Regions from separate parts of the Homo sapiens genome. Here all the other regions are linked to region 1. The links are contacts of gene promoters, found by promoter capture Hi-C in blood cells and fetal thymus (Javierre and others, 2016). All regions are on one chromosome and are shown on one strand. The core of a region is centred on a gene start or on the middle of the fragment in contact, and the rest is flanking DNA. Distances in the headings are between cores, read along the strand shown. Region 1 holds the start of CSRNP2 (cysteine and serine rich nuclear protein 2). Region 2 holds the start of BIN2 (bridging integrator 2). Region 3 overlaps BIN2 (bridging integrator 2). Region 4 overlaps SMAGP (small cell adhesion glycoprotein). Region 5 overlaps BIN2 (bridging integrator 2).

Region 1 (3,449 bases), core at 171-2,670:
GAAGCAAACAAGATGACAGAACAAAATGAGGGGGCGGGGTGGGGGTCGGGGGACAAGAGAATGCAGCTCGAGCTTGCCGAGCCTTATAGTTCAAGGGAAAGACAACAAAGAAGAAACCAAGGCTATGTGTCCTTGGCAAATCACATACAACTTTTGACTTCTTAATCTTGGTTTTCCCCTTTTTTTTCTTTTTCTTTTTCTTTTTTTTTTTGAGACGGAGTTTCGCTCTTGTTGACCGTGCTGGAGGGCAATGGTGCAGTCTTGGCTCACTGCAACCTCCGCCTCCCGGGTTCAAGCCATTCTCCTGGGTCGGCCTCCCGAGGAGCTGGGATTAAAGGCACGTGCTACCACCCTCGGCTAATTTTTGTATTTTTAGTAGAGACAGGGTTTCACCATGTTGGTCAGGCTGGTCTCGAACTCCTGACCTCATGACCCGCCCGCCTCGGCCTCCCAAAGTGCTGGGATTACAGGCATGAGCCACCGCGCCTGGCGCCCTTTCTTAAAAATAGGTTGCGGAAGGGCGCGGTGGCTCATGCGTATAATCCCAGCACTTTGGGAGGCCGAGGCGGGCGGATCGCCTGGGCCCAGGAGTGCAAGACCAGCCGGGGCAACATGGCGAAAACCCCTTTTCTATTTAAATAAATAAATTAGTTTGCAAAGTTGAGAAGATTTTTTTTTTTTTTTTTTTGAGACGGAGTCTCGCTCTTTCGCCCAGTCTGCAGTGCAGTGGCGCGATCTCGGCTCACTGCAAGCTCCGCCTCCCGGGTTCACGCCATTCTCCTGCCTCAGCCTCCCGAGTAGCTGGGACTACAGGCGCCCGCCACCACGCCCGGCTAATTTTTGTATTTTTTAGTAGAGACGGGGTTTCACCTTGTTAGCCAGGTTGGTCTCGATCTCCTGACCTCGTGATCCGCCCACCTCGGCCTCCCAAAGTGCTGGGATTACAGGCGTGAGCCACCGCGCCCGGCAGCAATTTTTTTTTTTTTAAAGAAAACACTCAAAGCACTCCCTCATATAAGTAGATAACTCAAGATATTGCTTGTATTCTTTATAACCTGCGCAGGCTGCAATAAGTCATATTGCTGAAGACTAAGACCCCATGAGCGAGGAGAAGGGGGGATCATGTTCCTAATGGCGTGTGGTCAGGACACGAAAGAAAAAGGGAGCTTTGGAGGAGAATTCGTTTATTTAAGATCTGTAGCTGAGTCTCCTCTCTTCCCCCATTAAAAGGTTGCAGCAGAGCTGCCGCCTCGGGAGCCGGTTTGCGCGCCGGCTTCGGCTTTGCAGCAGTTACCGCCTACAACTCCCGGCATGCTGCTGGGTGTGGGCCGGCCCGTAGACTCCATTTCCCAGCCAGCCCCGGGTCTCGGTCAGGACGTGCCGGCGCCTATAAGAGCCAGTGCGCTGCGGCCGGATCCTATTGTTAGCCGGAGCCGGGGCGGTTCTGGGCGTCTGCTGCCGGGGGCGCCCGAGTTGCCGGAGACGCCCGGCCCTCTCTGCCTGCCGGCTGGGCTGCCCACCGCCCTCCCTCCCCGCCCTGCCGCCCTGGGAGCTCCCCGGCCGTCGCCGCGGGGCCCGGGACTCGCTCGCTCCTCCCTCCTTCCCACCGGGCTAGGGCGGCGGCGGCAGCGGGGGCGGCAGAGACCATCACGGGAGGAGGCAGCTGCGGCGGGGCCGGTAATGGGCCTAGGGGTGCGGGGCGGAGGGTGCCGCCTCGTCCTTTCTCGGGATCGGCCCTCGGGCGGCCGTGGAGGAGTGGTCAAGCCCAGAGCCGTGCGGATGGAGGGGTCAGAAATGAGAGGCTCGGACGGGAGCGGTCGGGGGGCGGGGAGGTCGGGTGCCGTTGGGAAGGAACCGAGTCGGGAAGAGGCGTGGGAGCGAGGGGCACCGAGGACGCTGGCCCGGACTGCGGGGGCAGCTCGCGGGAGACCGATGGGCGGCTTGGAAGCCTGCAGGATTGCAGATGAGGATTGAGTTCGGAATGGAGTGGAGAATGATGTAGGATGGAGGAAAGTGAAGGAAGGGGAGGGGGAACAGAGGAAAATGTGGGAGGAGTGGTTGGGAATTTGTGAGTAGCAGGCAGGAAGGGATGCGGAAGGCTGGGTAGGGGCTGCAGAGGATTGGAATGAGCGGGAAGGTTAGCAGGAATCAGAGGGAAGTGGGCCGAGAGCTGAAGGGTTCGGCAGGAGTGTTCATTAAAAGGAACTGGTGACTTGACATGTCCCTTCGCTCCGGTTCCTGATGTCTCCCATATTTCTGGCGTCGTGTGGGAAAATGAAAGCATCAATTGCCCTGGTTGCTAGCTTGATCTTTTTTCATAGGCCCAATTACGCAGCCAACTGCCACCCGTCCCTTTTAGTGCTGTGGTCTTGATTCATCCTTTTAAAGGGGTTGAGAGTGGCAGTGTGACACACAAACTGTTCTTCAGAATGAAATGCTAGAAGTTATCCCCACAAGACAACACTGTCCCCTTGTCCTGCAGTTTTCAGTTCAAGGTAAATTCATAGTTCAGATTTTTTTCTTCACTGGCTTTCTGTCTTGCAAATCCACAAAGCCAGGATGTTGGTTGTGCCGGTGTTATAAATGACTGGATATCCTTGAGAGTTAATGCAGCATCATGTTCCAGTTCCCACAAAGATCTGTCTTCCACACGATGGTAGTTTAGGCATGGAAAATTCTAACCTTGTGTTAGTGAATGGGTAAAAATCGGGGAGTGGGGGTGGTGAGTGCACGGCTTTCTTTAAACACCTAACTTAAGCGGGGGGTTTTCACTTGGGTGCTTTGTAAGTTCATGATCCTGGTGATCACAAAGACACATGGATCCATGAAATTCATGGTATATGAGAAACAACCACAGTATCTTGTAAAAGGAGAAACAGGGCAGGTCATTTTATTCAGGTTTATGGTAACACAGCAGCAAGCCTTCCTTCCAACCCAGCTACAGATGGTAGCCCTGACCATCTTACTGGAGGTTTTGATTCCTTGACCTTTAGCAGAAGGTTGGGTTCCAGTCAAGTGAAGAGGCTTTCTCCTGTGAGATGTAGCTTATTACTTTGGACTCATTTAAGAAAGAGACTTATATTACCTAAACTTTGCAAATAGATTCTTCCAGAAAATTTTGCCTGGGCAGTCCCTCTTGCTGCTCTCACATATGCTGTTTTTTTTTGTTGTTGTTGTTGTTTGTTTGTTTGTTTGTTTTGGTGGTTATAGGAATCCTTTTAGGCCTGAAAAAAACTTAGATCTAGTACTAAAATATACATATTCTGGTGGAACTGTTTATTAGGTGCTAGCCTGATGTATTCTGTGCTCTGGATCTTAACTATTTCATATAACTTTGGAAAATGTTCAGCTAGAAACTCTTGAGAAAAGACCATTAGACATGTAGCCAGAAAGTGTCAGCTGACCTTTCATTTCACTGGCATTTAAAAGCTTTAAAGAGAGTTGCATTA
Region 2 (3,458 bases), core at 720-3,219, 240 kb before region 1:
CGCACCTTAGTCCCAGCTACTCAGGAGGCTGAGGTGAGACCATCACTTGGGCCTGGGAGGTAGAGGCTGCAGTGAGCCCTGATGGCACTGCTGCACTCCAGCCTGGCAACAAAGCAAGACCCTGTCTCCAAACAAACAAACAAACAAACAAACCCTAATCACCTATTCCCAGAAAATTTTGTATCCATCTCTACAAATAAATTAAGCACATTACATTAGAATCACCTGATTACCCACCTATCTCCACTTCCAGACTTTAAGCATCTTTATTTATGTACTTATTTATTAATACTTATTCTTTATTGGTTGAGAAAGGGCCTCACGCTTTGCCCAGGCTGGAATGCAGTGGCACCATCAGGGCTCACTGCAGCCTCCACCTCCCTTGGCTCGGGTGATCCTCCCACCTCAGCCTCCCTGATAGCTGGGACTACAGGTGTGTGCCACCACGCCCAATTAATTTTTGTATTTTTAGCAGAGAGAAGGTCTTGCTATGTTGCGCAGGCTAGTCTCAAACTCCTGGGCTCAAGCAATCTGCCTGCCTCAGCCTCCTAAAGTGTTGGGATTACAGGTGTGAGCCGTGGTGCCCGGCCAGACTTCATTAAGCATCTTAAGGTCAGGGACTGCATTTTATTCATCCTTGTTTCAGAACACCCAGCAATGCCTGGTACACAGTTGACCTTGAGTGCAGTAATGATTGTTTTGGAGAAAGAAGAGGAACACAGTAGCATACAAGGGCCTCTAATTTTGTGTCAGGCCCTATCTTCCCCCTCCACTCCTTAGGAAGTGTTATTTTGACCTTCTTCCCTGCCTTGAGGAAATTTTAACCTGCACTGTAAAATCTGAGTACGTGGTTCCTCCACACCTAGTGTCCTAATCTCAAGCTATCCCCTCAAACAGGTCAGGGAGGAATTTTTTGGAGAACTTCTCCCTAAAGAAACAATAGTTGTCATCTCAACAGCCGCACCCCAATTTGCACAATCTGTGTCTGTGTTCACATTCTGCCTCCATCCAGTACACTGTACTCCAACTAGAAAAACTTGCTCCTCATGCTCAGCACGGGCGTCCATACTATCCTCCTCAGCCTTTTTTCAATGTGATCATTCTCTTGCCTAAGAACCAGCCCCCTACCCTGTTTCTATCTCCAGCTTAGTTGTTCCTCATTTATTTATTTATTTATTTATTTATTTATTTATTTATTTGAGACGAACTGTCGCTCTGTCGCCCAGGCTGGAATGCAGTGGCGCGATTTCGGCTCACTGCAACCTCTGCCTCCCGGGTTCAAACAATTCTCCTGCGTCATCCTCTCGAGTAGCTGGGACTGCAGGCGTGCGCCACCACACCCAGCTAATTTTTGTATTTTTAGTAGCGACGCGGTTTCACCGTATTGGTCAGGCTGATCTCCTAACCTCAGGCGATCCACCCGCCTCGGCCTCCCAAAGTGCTAGGATTACAGGCGTGAGCCACCGCGCCCGGCCTGTTTCTCTCTTTCAAGCCCGGCTCGGGTGTCCTGCCTGCTTTCTGCACTCTATCCCTACCAGTTCCAGGCTTAGAGCCTACCTGGAGCAAGAAACGCAGTGTACATGGCGGCTTCGCATGCATACTCAGAGAACCTAAACGTGTTTTCGATATGGTAGGTCCTCTCGCTGAGTGGAACCCACATCATTTTCTACCCTGCGGTGGCAGTTGCTTTGCAGTGCTCAGCGTGATGGGAACTGGCTTTCCGGAGCGAGTGAGTGTGGGCCCACCACTGAGGACCTGGTTCAGTGAGGCCGAGGTTTCGGGCAGGGGTTGGAGCTCGGAAGCTGGCCTCGAGCGAGCGCTGCCTGAGGGTAGGCCCCGGGCCCGCCCCTCCGAGCCGGCCTGCTCCAGCTGACAGTGGTGGGCTGAGGGGCGGGCCTCAGGGCTGGCCAGGGGCGGCCTGAGGTGGCTCAGGGCTGGGGCCGGATGCGAGGCATGCCGGGAGCCCGCACTTCCTCCTCGGGGGCCTCAGAAAACCACAGGGCGCGGGGCCAGGGCGGCGGCCCCCAGGGAGTTGGCAGGATGGCAGAGGGCAAGGCAGGCGGCGCGGCCGGCCTCTTCGCCAAGCAGGTGCAGAAGAAGTTTAGCAGGGCCCAGGAGAAGGTAGGTGGCCGGGCCTCGCTGTCTGTCTGGCCCACAGGGAGCCGAGGCCGAGGCCGAGCCCGGCCGGGCAGGAGGGGCGGGCAGGGTGCTCAGGGGCCCCGAAGGGTCTGGGCTGACGAGAAGGGTCTCCCGCTCTCCCAGGGAAACGGGAGCGAGGAGTGGGCTTCCATGAAAACTGGCAGATTGGAGAGAGGTCGGAGACCGCCACCCGATCTTGGGCAAGGATAAGGGAAGCTGGGGAGACAACAGTCTCTGGGCAGAACCTTCGACAACCCTCAGGCTGACCCAGAAAAGGTGAAAGAAAGGAAGTGATGGTGGTGGCCACCTTTGTATCAAATTTTGTGCTAGCAATCCAAAATTGGTATTTTACAGATGATGAAATTGGAGGGTAATTTTCCATAGAGGGCAATTTCCCCAAAAACAGCGATGCAGCGGATGCCAGCAGGCACCCCCCACCAAAGGCTTAGAATAATCCTGCATAGTTCTCCCCCTACCTGACCCTGCCTGGCCTCTGGGTGGTGTTTCAGCTGACGTAAGCAGGAGCCCAAATCTGCTTCTTCTACCCTCCCTTTGGCGTTGGGGAGTACACCTCCCAGGGTGATGAACCACATCTGTGTTCAGAGTGTGTCCTTGGTTAGTGTCAGGTAGCCCTGCTCCAGCACTGGCACTTAGGTGGGCTGCCCATCTATTACTTGCTTGGCAATCTAAATTGTGGGGACATTCTCTACACATTTTGATGGCATTTTTGTTTCTACCTGTACAGAATATTTTCTTTGCTTCTAACCTGAGCCTCTGCTCTCCACCTACCAACCCTCTAGTAGACAAGGCGGTTTGGGAAGACATGTCAGCCAGAAGAAAGAGCGAGGGAAGAAAGACAAGAAGGACCTGAGATAGAGTTTCGGTTTTCCTTTTTTTCTCTCTCTCTTTATTAAGCCCAACCTGCCTTCTACAACGGAGAAGTTTTGGTTTTCTAAGAGCTGATGGACTTAGAAGCATTTGGATGAACAGCTCTGCTTACCAACTGAAATATCCCTATTATCTTCTAAAAGTGGAGCACTGCTTTGAGCCCTGGGAAGGCTTAAAGGCAACCAGCTCTCCCGAGTTGATTTATCAGCAGAAAACTGATGGAATGTAGATGTAGCTCCTGACTTTAAGAGACCACAATGGAAGGGAGGTTATTTTCTATCATTTGAGGTCATGTGAAAGAGAGGAGGAAAAGGGAAAGAGTTCGTGTAGCCAGACTTCGTTACTTCACTTACCCTAACTTCACCTTGATCCTAGTTTCAGCCTCTCTGAAGACTTACAAATCTGGTAGACCCGAGAGCAGGGCCTATGGG
Region 3 (3,750 bases), core at 1,053-3,552, 210 kb before region 1:
AAACATGGTGGAAAGGACATTTGTTTACAGTTTGAGAACGGAAGCAAGAAGGTAGATGATTGCCTTGTTAGACTTCATCTGGAAAGTGCGTGCCAGGCAACTCATTCTTCACCACTTGGGCATCTCCAATAGTGACTGGGAAAGTGCCACAAGTATTGATTTGGGGGTTCCAAATAAATAAGTAGGTAATTCACAGATATGAAATCTGTGTAGTTCAACTGTATATCACCCATTAATCTTTGCCCCAGAGGAAATATTTGCGACATTTTGCAGTGTTTCTTTCCAGTCTCTTTCTCTGTACATATTTTTACATAATTGAGTTCATGATATAGATAAAATTTTGGCCTTTTTTCATTTCACTGTATAAGTGTTATTGTAAATTATGCAAACTTTCTAACATTTTAAATTGCTTTATTCTTTTTTTTATTACATGCATCGTAAGTTTTGCATATTTACATTGCTTCTGGTTTTTAGCCGTTCTGAATCTGAACACCTTCCTTTTTTAGCAGCAGCAGGCGCTCTTTAGTCATTTCTCCCCCAGTTCGAACAGCTACAGTCTCCAGTCCTCTTACCTCACCTACTAGTCCCTCTACACTTTCCTTGAAGAGTGAGAGTGAATCTGTCTCAGCAACTGAAGATCTGGCACCTGATGCAGCCCAAGGGGAAGACAATTCTGAGATCAAGGAGCTCTTAGAAGAGGAGGAAATAGAGAAGGAAGGATCTGAAGCAAGCTCCTCTGAGGAAGATGAGCCTCTACCAGCCTGCAATGGCCCCGCCCAGGCCCAGCCCTCTCCTACCACTGAAAGGGCCAAGTCCCAGGAGGAAGTTCTCCCCAGCTCCACAACTCCATCACCAGGCGGAGCCCTGAGCCCTTCAGGGCAGCCTTCATCATCTGCCACAGAAGTAGTCCTCCGAACCCGCACCGCAAGTGAAGGATCTGAACAACCAAAGAAGAGAGCCTCTATCCAGAGGACCTCAGCACCCCCTAGTAGGCCTCCTCCACCCAGAGCCACTGCAAGCCCCAGGCCCTCCTCAGGGAACATACCTTCCAGCCCTACAGCCTCTGGAGGGGGTTCACCCACCAGCCCTAGGGCCTCCTTGGGGACTGGGACTGCAAGTCCTAGGACCTCCCTAGAGGTCTCTCCTAATCCAGAACCACCAGAGAAGCCAGTAAGAACTCCTGAGGCCAAAGAAAATGAAAACATCCACAATCAGAACCCTGAAGAACTTTGTACTTCCCCCACCTTAATGACATCTCAGGTAAGAGTAGTTCTGGTTGGGTATTTAATTTAATTAATTTATTTATTTAAGCTAGGGTCTCACTCAGGCGTCCAGGCTGGAGTGTAGTGGTGCGATCACAGCTCATTGCAGTCTCGACCTCTCAAGCTCAAGTGATCCTCTGCCAACAGAGATAGGGTCTCCTTATGTTGCCCAGACTGGTCTTGAATTCCTGGCCTCAAGTGATCCTCCTGTCTTGGCCTCCCAAAGTGCTGAGATTACAGATGTGAGCCACTGCACCCGGCTCTGGTAGGGTCTTTATATCCTTTTATAACCTCCATGTAGGTATCTTTACTATAGTCAGAATACTCTTGGACACCTTTTTTGGTTTTGGGGATTGTTTCATGTCTTCATAGCTATTAATTTAGTAATCTACTTTTAGGGTAATTGACTTTTTTTTGTTTGTTTGTTTGTTTGCTTTTTTGAGATGGAGTCTCGCTCTGTCACCCAGGCTGGGGTGCAGTCATGCAATCTTGGCTCTCTGCAACTTCTGCCTCCTGGGTTCAAGTGATTCTCCTGCCTCAGCCTCCAGAGTAGCTGGGATTACAGGTGCACGCCACCACACCCGGCTAATTTTTGTATTTTTAGTAGAGACGGGGTTTCTCCATGTTTATTTTTTGTTTTGTTTTGTTTTGTTTTTGAGACGGAGTCTCGCTCTGTCGCCCAGGATGGAGTGCAGTGGCACGATCTCTGCTCACTGCAAGCTCCGCCTCCCGGGTTCACACCATTTTCCTGCCTCAGCCTCCCGAGTAGCTGGGACTACGGGTGCCGGCCACCATGCCTGGCTAATTTTTTGTATTTTTAGTAGAGATGGGGTTTCACTGTGTTAGTCAGGATGGTCTCGATCTCCTGACCTTGTGATCTACCCGCCTCAGCCTCCCAAAGTGCTGGGATTACAGGGGTGAGCCACCTCGCCCAGCTGGTTTCTCCAAGTTGGGCAGGCTGGTGCCGAACTCCTGACCTCGTGATCCGCCTGCCTCGGCCTCCCAAAGTGCTGGGATTACAGGCGTGAGCCACCTCGCCCAGCCAGTAATTGACTTCTATAAGGGGCTTATCTCTAGTAGTGTTAATGAGCAGATTCTTACTAATTTCTTTCTTTTCCTCCAAGTTCTGGGAGTTCCTAGTATAAAGAACCTTTAGTTGAAGCCGGGCGTCGTGTCTCACACCTGTAATTCCAGCACTTTGGGAGGCCAAGGCAGGCAGATCACTTGAGGCCAGGAGTTCGAGACCAGCCTGGCCAACCAACATGGTGAAACCCTGTCTCCATTAAAAATACAAAAATTAGCCAGGCATGGTGGTGTCTGTAGTCTCAGCTACTTGGAAGGCCTGAGGCACAAGAACATGAGAATCACTTGAACCCAGGAGGCAGACGTTGCAGTAAGCCGACATCACATCACTGCACTCCAGCCTGGGCAACAGAGTGAGACTGTGTCTCAAAGAAAAGAAAAAGAAAAAGTTAAAAAAAAATTAATACAAAATAAAATAAATAAATAAATAAATAATAAATTCAAAAAAATAAAGGACCAATAGTTGGAATCCTGAGCTTTACCTTCTTTAGTGGGGGCAGGAGGGTGGGTCTCACTTCAGTTCATTATACCTGTGACTATGGTAAATAGACCCTGAAAAAAAATGGCAGCAAATTTCCAGGGTGTGTCTTCTCTGATGAGAAGACCTAGAAGCAGGAACTCACAGAGGGAAGTAAAGCAAAAAGGACAGCCTTTTGAAAAGGCTGCTCCTTACTTGGGAGGCTGAGACAGGAGGATTGCTTGAGCTTATGAGGTCGAGGCTGCAGTGAGCACTACTACACTCCAGCCTGGGCACCAGAGTGAGACCCTATCTCAAAAAAAAATTTTTAAGTCTTGAAAAAAAATTGAGAGATGCCAACCCATTGAAGAGCAACTAGTTCTGTGAAGGATCTGTAAATCAAGTCATACTCTTTTTTTTCTTTCTTTCTTTTGAGACAGGGTCTCACTCTGTCACCCAGGCTGGAGTGCAATGGCATGATCATGACTCACTGCAGCCTTGACCTCTCTGGGCCCCAGTGATCTTCCCTCCTTAGCCTCCCACGTAGCTGGTACTACAGGCGCATGCCACCATGCCTGCCTCATTTTTGTATTTTTGGTAGAGATGGGGTTTCGCCATGTTGCCCAGGCTGGTTTCAAACTCCTGGGCTCCAGTGGTCCTCCCATCTCCGCCTCCCAAAGTGCTGGGCTTACAGGTGTGAGCCACCGTGCCCGGCCTCAAGTCATATTCTAGTCACATTATATGGAAAGACTATCATATAGGGATTTGACTTGTTCTGTGACACTCCAGAGGGCAGAGGCAGAAACTACATATAAAGACTTTTTTTTAAGATACATTTTGGAACAATACAAGAGGAACTTTCAACAATTAGCTCAATTTTTTAAATGGGATGGGAAAAAAGTATTGTGGAAGGGCAAAGGAGACACAAGGGGCTGATCAAAAAAAATA
Region 4 (3,933 bases), core at 811-3,310, 180 kb before region 1:
ACACGGAGTGGGGGGGGGGAATAGGTCAGCAAAGGCTTCATGGGTGGGTGAGGAAGGGGATCTGAGTCTTGCCCTTGAAAGACGGACAAGGTTCATACAGGCAAAGGGGCGCAGCAGGTATCTTAGAGAAACGTAGAATACCTTTTTCGTGTGTACCTGCTCTAGATAAAGGTAGAATACCTCATACCATGTGTGAAGCTACAGAGACGATTTACCCTGGAGGATGTTCAGGAAGCGGGTGGGCAGAGGACCTCCAGAATAATCCTGCCCACAAGGGAAAAAAGGTGATACCTTGGCAGCTAGCTGAGGGATTAGAACCTTGGCAAGGGGGAGCTGTTTACATTTTTTAAATTTTATTATTATTATTTTTGAGACCAAGTCTTGCTGTGTCACCCAGGCTGGAGTACAGTGGCTTAATTTCGGTTCACTGCAACCTCCGCCCCCTGGGTTCAAGCAATTCTCCCACCTTAGTCTCCCTAGTAGCTGGAATTACAGGCGTGCGCTACCACGCCTGGCTAATTTGTATACTTTTAGTGGAGACAGGGTTTCGCCATGTTGGCCAGGCTGGTCTCAAACTCCTGGCCTCAAGTGATCTGCCCTTCTCGGCCTCCCAAAGTGCTGGGATTACAGGCTCATGCCATTTTTTCTTTTTTAAAATTTATGGTAAAATAAACATAGTACAGGTATTACCATTTTAGCCATTTTTTCGCAGACAATTCAGTGGTAGAGTAGTCCCCGCTTATCCACAGGGGATTCATTCCAAAAACCCCAGTGGATGCCTGAAATCTCAGATAGTACTGAACCCCATCTATACTGTGTTTTTTCCTGTACATACATACTTATGATAAAGCTTAACTTGTAAATTAGGCACAGTAAGAGATTAACAATAATAATAAAATAGAACAACTATAACAATATACTGTAATAAGAGTTATGTGAAAATGGTCTCTCTCACTTAAAATGTCTTATTTACTATAGATCTTAGAAACCTCAGTACACAGTTCTTTTTTTTTTTTTCTTAAGTCAAGAACTTTCACCTTTTCACTTAAAGGAAGCACTTCTTGTTGGCATGTCCAAATTGCATCACTATTCTTGTGCTTTGGGGCCACTGTCATGTAAAATAAGGGTTACTTGAACACAAGCGCTGTGGTACTCTACTAAGCGTTTATAGCATGGACACAAAAGGATGATTCACTTTCCAGGCAGGATGGAGCAGGGTGTGAGATTTCATCACGCTACTCAGAACGGTACATAATTTAAAATGTATGAATTGTTCCTTTCTGGAATTTTCTTTTTCTGTTAAATTTCTATTTAATGTTTTCGGACTGCAGTTGACCACGGGTAACTGAAACCTAGGAAAGCAAAACCGCAGATAAGAGGGGACTACTGTTGTTTTTTTTTTTTGAGACGGAGTCTCGCTCTGTCACCCAGGCTGGAGTGCAGTAGCGCCATCTCAGCTCACTGCAAGCTCCGCCTCATGGGTTCACGCCATTCTCCTGTCTTAGCTTCCCGAGTAGCTGGGACTACAGGCGCCCACCACCACGCCCGGCTAATTTTTTGTATTTTTAGTAGAGACGGGGTTTCACCGTGTTAGCCAGGATGGTCTTGATCTCCTGACCTCGTGATCCGCCCACCTCGGCCTCCCAAAGTGCTGGGATTACAGGCCAGTGCCTGGCCTGGGGGGACTACTGTATTAAGTAATTCATGTTCCTCACCACCATCCATCTCCAGAACTTTACCTTCCCAAACCGAAACTTGACACCCATTAAACACTGATTCCCCATTTCCCTGCAAACACCGTTCTATTTTCTGTCTATGTAAATTTGACTGCTCTAGGTACTTCATGTAAGTAGAATCATACAATAGACCTTTTGTGTCTGGCTAACTTCACTTAGCATAATATTCTCAAAGTTCATCCATATTGTAGCATGTCACAATTTCCTACTTTTTCAAGGCTGAATAATATTGTTGTATGTGTATATTACATTTTGTTTATCCATTCATCTATGATGGACAGTTGAGTTGCTTCCACCTTTTGGCTATTGTGACTGATGCTGCCATAAACATGGGTGTACAAATATCTTCTTGAGACCCTGCTTTCAGTTGTTTGGGATGTATGCTCAGAAGTGGAATTGCTATATCATGTGGTAATTCTGTGTTTGATTTTTTTGAGGATCCACCATATAGGTTTGCACAGCAGCTGCACCATTTTATATTCCTACCAGCAATGCATAAAGGTTTCAGTTTCTCTACAACCTTGCCAACACTTGTTACTTTCTGTTTAATGGTAGTCATCATATTGTGTGTGAAGTGGTATCTCATTGTGGTTTTGATTTGCATTTCCCTAGTGATAGTGATGTGGAGCATCTTTTCATGTACTTATTGACCATTTGTATATCTTTGGAGAAATGTCTATTCAAGTCTTGTCCCATTTTTTAGTTGATTTGTTTTGTTCTTGTTCAGTTGTATATTTATATCCTTTAAAAATTTTTTTTAAAAAATTGATCGTTGAATCAGTCCTCTCTCTCTTTCTCTTTTTTTTTTTTTTTTTCTGGCGATGGAGTCTTGCTCTGTCACCCAGGCTGGATTGCAGTGGCACCATCTCGGCTCACTGCAACCTCCACCTCCCGGGTTCAAGCAATTCTCCTGCCTCAACCTCCTGAGTAGCTGGGATTACAGGCACACGCTGCCACACCCGGCTAATTTTTTGTATTTTAGTAGAGACGGGGTTTCACCATGTTGCCCAGGCTGGTCTCAAACTCCTGAGCTCAGGCAATCCGCCTGCCTTGGCCTCCCAAAGTACTAGGATTACAGGCATGAGCCACTGTGCCTGACCTTTTTTTTTTTTTTTTTTTTTTAAGAGATGGGATCTTACTCTGTTGCCCAGGCTGGAGTGCAGTGGCACAATCCTGGCTCACTACAGACCCAAACATCTGGGCTTGAGGGATCCTCCCACCTCAGACTCCTGAGCAGCTGGGACTGCAGGCGTGCACCATCACGCCCAGCTAATTTTAAAATTTTTTGTAGAGATAGGGTTTTGCTATGTTGCTCAGGCAACTCTCCCGGCCTGAAGCCATGCTCCTTCCTCTGCCCCTGAGTTGTTGAGATTATAGGCGCAAGCCACCTCACCTGGCTGCATTCTTGATCCAGCGAGTGACATGAGTGAAGTAGTGATTTAGGACAGTCTCCTATCCACTGGGTCCAAGCAAGTGTAAGTTCAGAGACAGCAATAGACAAAAGAATAGAAATCACAGATAGGAAGAAAGCTTATACTTTAAATGATGGGATCACTAAAGGCCAGCTCTTCTCTTCTACCCCTGTCTTGCATTTCTCTTCCCCCACCTTCCCACCTATTCCTCCCTCACAGTCTATAAAGACTTCCTAGAGAAGATATCCTCCAGGAACCTTGAAAGGAAGGGCCACATTATGACTCCTGAGCCCTGGGCACTTCTGTCTTTGTGGGCTCCTCCTTCACTTAAAAAAATATTAAAAATCATATTTTACAACTGCATCAGTGTAAGGAAGAATATAATATAATATAATTAATATTTATAATTAGTAATTGAATGGCATAACAACCTTAATATTTCTTTGACCTAAAATTTTGTTTCTTTTCCTTCTTCTAATTATAAAAGAAATGAAAATTATTTAAAACATTTTCATGGGCCTTTCGAAGCATTGTGGGCCCAGGGCACTGTGCCTGTTGTGCCTAGTGCATAAGTCAGCCCTATTCGAAGTAGGGCAGAGTGGAACTGTGCCTTGTGGGCTTTGCCCACCGTGCCAGGTAAAGCTCATCTCTTGCCACCAAATGATCACACCAGCTACCGCCTAGGTTGTCCTCACCCTGTATTAGACACTTAGCATTTTTCTTTATTTTATTTTAAAAATAATTTTTTGTAGAAATAAGGTCTTACTGTGTTGCCCAGTCTGGTC
Region 5 (3,780 bases), core at 94-2,593, 220 kb before region 1:
TCTTTTTTGTTTTTGTTGTTGTTTTGTATTTTTAGTAGAGACGGGGTTTCACCATGTTGGCCAGGCTGGTCTCAAACTCCTGACCTCAAGTGATCTACCCACCTCGGCTTCCCAAAGTGCTCGGATTACAGGCATGAGCCACTGCACCCAGCCCTGATCACATTTCTTCTATAGGTAATTTTTCTCTGAGGCTCTACTTGCTTCCTGCTTTTCCTTCTCTTCAGTGTATTACATAGGAAGGATTATTTTCCTCAAGCAACACTTTAACCTGTTATTTTTGGTAGTGACAGCTGCTTCCAATTCATTACCTTTAAACTCAAATCTAATAATCTAGCTTCGTATTTCCCTCCTAGATCTACATTAAACCAAGCACTTTCAACACTTGATCACTTCAACACTTGGGCATGCTATTTACACTTGTTTTGCTGAGTGTCTGAGCCAATTTTTCTCCAGAAAGTAGGGAACCCCAGGACAAGAACTTTCTCCATCCTCAGTACCCCAGTCTCTTAAGACCTAGCTCTGTCCTCCTGACTGCTCAGGACAAGCTTCTGGTGTGAGTGGTTCATTAACTGAGGGTTGGGACTGTTTGTATAATGGGTGGGAAGGACTGACTCAGACTCTTTATGGCAATGCCAAGAATTCGGCAAGGATTCAGAGAGCAGAAGTGATAAAGTCATAAGATTTAGAGCTAGAACTGGCTTACCCTGCATTTATAGATGAAGAAATGGAAGGCAGAGAAGTGGAGTAACTTGCTAGTTGGTGGTAAAGTCAAGTTTCTTGACTCCCAGACAAGCGAGAACCCAAGACTATGAGAGTCACATCTGTCAGGAAAGGAGAAAGATGTTGGGATTATTCAGCCTGGATATATTCCAGGGGGGGACAGATAGGTCAGAGAAAGAAAATGATACCTGTTGCTGACCTGTCTTCTCTCTCCTTCCCCACTCCATACCACTACCCCCACCAACACACACACACACTCACTCTCACACTCATACTTCATCTTCGCAAAAGAAAGAGCAAGAGCATAAAGGAGAACTTTGTAACTAAAAGGCTTCATTCTAAAACACAGAAATGGAGCGGGGCTTTTGTGAGCTGCAGTGGAAAGCAGAAGGCATTCATTTTCTGGGCTGTGATAGAGTACCCCCTAGTTTTCAACACTGTGCATTTATGCATGGTAGCCTTGATTACTCATCTGATTTTTCAGGTTATATGATAACTAATGGGAAAAAATTAGGAACTTTATTTGTACAAATTGTGCAAGGTAATTTTTTTTTTTTTTGAGACGGAGTTTCTCTCTTGTCGCCCAGGTTGGAGTGCAGTGGTGTAATCCCAGCTCACTGCAACCTCTGTGCCCCCGGGTTCAAGCGATTCTCCTGCCTCAGCCTCCTAAGTAGCTGGGATTACAGGCGTATACTACCACACCCAGCTAATTTTTGTATTTTTAGTAGAGATGGGGTTTCACCATGTTGGCCAGGCTGGTCTTGAACTCCTGACCTCAGGTGATCTACCTGCCTCGGCCTCCCAAAGTGGTGGGATTATAGTGGGTGAGCCACCGCTCCCAGCCTGTGCAAGGTAATTTAACAGTTTTTATTACTTTATTGTATTTATTTTTGAAATAAAATTTTCATGGTGAAGTAAAAAATTGAGTCCTTTTTTCTCCTTCAAGAAAGAATTTAAAAGTCTTGTTAATTTTTTTTTTTTTTTTTTGAGTCAGAGTCTCACTCTGTCGCCCAGGCTAGAGTACGGTGTCGCGATCTCAGCTCACTGTAACCTCCACCTCCCGGGTTCAAGCCATTCTCCTGCCTCAGCCTCCCAAGTAGCTGGTATTACAGGCGTGTGCCACCACACCCAGCTAATTTTTGTGTTTTTAGTAGAGACAGGGTTTCACCATGTTGGCCAGTCTGGTCTCGATCTCTTGACCTCACAATCTGCCCGCCTCGGCCTCCCAAAGTGCTAGGATTACAGGCGTGCATCACTGTGCCCGGCCAAGCCTTGTTCATTTTTATAATCCCCAAAACTTTTTCAAGGCTCTTTAAAATCTTGATTATCACCTTTTCAAAATTCTCAAACCTCTACCTACCTCCCTTATCCACATTTAAAAGATGTTGTATACATTTAACATGTTAGGCTATCTAAGCTTTTTTCTATAAATGAAAAAGCAAGGAGGAAGTGAGATATCCTTTCTGGTAGATGCTGAGTGTTTCTGAATTTTGTTAACTGACTGAATCTGTCTCCAATATGCTATTGAAAGTGCTTTCTCATGGTCACCAGTGACCCATTACCAAATCCAGTGAATTTTACCAATTCTTCCTGCATTCTAACGTCTCTGTAGCATCTGACACTTCCTTGATTGGTTTTGATTTTTAGACAGAGTCTGCTGTGTCGCCCAGGCTGCAGTGCAATGGCGCAATTGCAGCTCACTGCAGCCTCCACCTTCCGGGTGCAAGTGATTCTCCTGCCTCAGCCTCCCGAGTAGTTGGGATTACTGGCACCCACCACCACACCTGGCTAATTTTTGTATCTTTAGTGGAGACGGACTTTCACCATGTTGGCCAGGCTGGTCTTGAACTCCTGACCTCAAGTGATCTGCCTACCTCAACCTCCCAAAATGCTAGGATTACAGATTTGAGCTACCTCGCCTGGCCTACTTCCTTGATTGTTTATATGATGTTCTCTTAATCCTCATTTGCTGTAACACAGCACACAATCACAGTTCTGTACCTGTCTGACAGTGCCTTTCACTCCTTTAAGACTGTGTCCTCATGTCCCTTCAAACTGACATTCAGCCCCTTGAGAGGGACTTTTGATCTGAAGTTTGATCAAAAGTTTGGACTAGCTTAGAAGTGAGCTCTGAGACCCAGCACAGTGGCTCACACCTGTAATCCCAGCACTTTGGGAGGCCGAGGTGGGCAGATCACGAGGCCAGGAGATCGAGACCATCCTGGCTAACACAGTGAAACCCTGTCTCTACTAAAAATACAAAAAATTAGCCAGGCGTGGTGGCACACACCTGTAGTCCTAGCTATGCAGGAGGCTGAGGCAGGAGAATTGTCGCTTGAACCCAGGAGGCGGAGGTTGCAGTGAGCCAAGATCACGCCACTGCACTCCAGCCTGGGCGACAGAGCGAGACTCCATCTCAAAAAAAAAAAAAAAAAAAAAAAAAGAAAGAAAACAGTGAGCTCTGGAGGCAAAAAAAATGGATGAAATAACTAGTCCAGTTTTCTTTGATTTGACCAAGTAGACCTAAATTTTCTGCTGCTAAAATTAAGTAAATAGTGACCTTTCCCCAAAGATTTCCACAGGAAAAATTTTGTCACTAGATAGAATTTTCTGAATTTTCCTTTTTTTCTCATTTTTTTTTTTTTTGAGATGGAGTTTCATTCTGTTGCCCAGGGTGGAGTACAGTGGTGCGATCTCGGCTCACTGCAACCTCTGCCTCCTGGGTTCAAGTGATTCTCCTGCCTCAGCCTCCTGAGTAGCTGAGATTACAGGTGCGTGCCACCATGCCTGGCTAATTTTTGTATTTTTAGTAGGGACAGGGTTTCACCACATTGGTCAGGCTGGTCTAGAGCTCCTGACCTCGTGATCCTCCTGCCTTGGCATCCCAAACTGCTAGGATTACAGGCGTGAGCCACTGCGCCCAGCCTTTCCCATAATTTTTTATTTTTATTTATTTATTTATTTTTGAGATGGAGTTTTGCTCTCGGCTCACTGCCACCTCTGCCTCCTGGGTTCAAGCGATTCTCCTGCCTAAGCCTGCCAAGCAGCTGGGATTACAGG

Evidence for each region. The method cuts DNA at HindIII sites, captures the fragments that hold promoters and counts their contacts. A CHiCAGO score of 5 or more calls a contact.
Region 2: a contact is called between the fragment with the promoter of BIN2 here and the fragment with the promoter of CSRNP2 in region 1, in 1 of 17 cell types (M2 macrophages). The highest score is 5.3, in M2 macrophages.
Region 3: a contact is called between a fragment that was not itself captured here and the fragment with the promoter of CSRNP2 in region 1, in 1 of 17 cell types (M1 macrophages). The highest score is 5.3, in M1 macrophages.
Region 4: a fragment that was not itself captured here is called in contact with the fragment with the promoter of CSRNP2 in region 1 in 4 of 17 cell types (megakaryocytes, erythroblasts, M1 macrophages and 1 more); the score reaches 8.6 in megakaryocytes.
Region 5: a fragment that was not itself captured here is called in contact with the fragment with the promoter of CSRNP2 in region 1 in 3 of 17 cell types (endothelial precursors, megakaryocytes and M1 macrophages); the score reaches 6.5 in endothelial precursors.

Annotation. Positions count from the first base shown.
Region 1 is chr12:51,081,567-51,085,015 of GRCh38, reverse strand. CSRNP2 (cysteine and serine rich nuclear protein 2) reads left to right here and starts at 1,420. Exons shown (of 5, transcript NM_030809.3): 1 at 1,420-1,677. RefSeq lists an enhancer at 369-995 and a silencer at 1,369-1,858. The HindIII fragment of the contact is 4,493 bases long and covers 1-3,431 here.
Region 2 is chr12:51,322,685-51,326,142 of GRCh38, reverse strand. BIN2 (bridging integrator 2) reads left to right here and starts at 1,969. Exons shown (of 13, transcript NM_016293.4): 1 at 1,969-2,121. The coding sequence starts at 2,041. LOC105369767 (a long non-coding RNA gene) reads left to right here and starts at 2,135. Exons shown (of 2, transcript XR_944957.3): 1 at 2,135-2,415; 2 at 2,940-3,458. RefSeq lists a silencer at 1,734-2,223 and an enhancer at 2,254-2,443. The HindIII fragment of the contact is 11,893 bases long and covers 1-3,458 here.
Region 3 is chr12:51,289,101-51,292,850 of GRCh38, reverse strand. BIN2 (bridging integrator 2) reads left to right here. Exons shown (of 13, transcript NM_016293.4): 10 at 507-1,260. Among named protein-coding and RNA genes, the nearest start is that of SMAGP, 21 kb to the right of the region's middle. The HindIII fragment of the contact is 4,839 bases long and covers 1-3,750 here.
Region 4 is chr12:51,263,553-51,267,485 of GRCh38, reverse strand. The region is part of intron 2 of SMAGP (small cell adhesion glycoprotein); the gene reads left to right. Among named protein-coding and RNA genes, the nearest start is that of SMAGP, 4.9 kb to the left of the region's middle. The HindIII fragment of the contact is 2,416 bases long and covers 853-3,268 here.
Region 5 is chr12:51,305,210-51,308,989 of GRCh38, reverse strand. The region is part of intron 2 of BIN2 (bridging integrator 2); the gene reads left to right. Among named protein-coding and RNA genes, the nearest start is that of BIN2, 17 kb to the left of the region's middle. The HindIII fragment of the contact is 1,592 bases long and covers 548-2,139 here.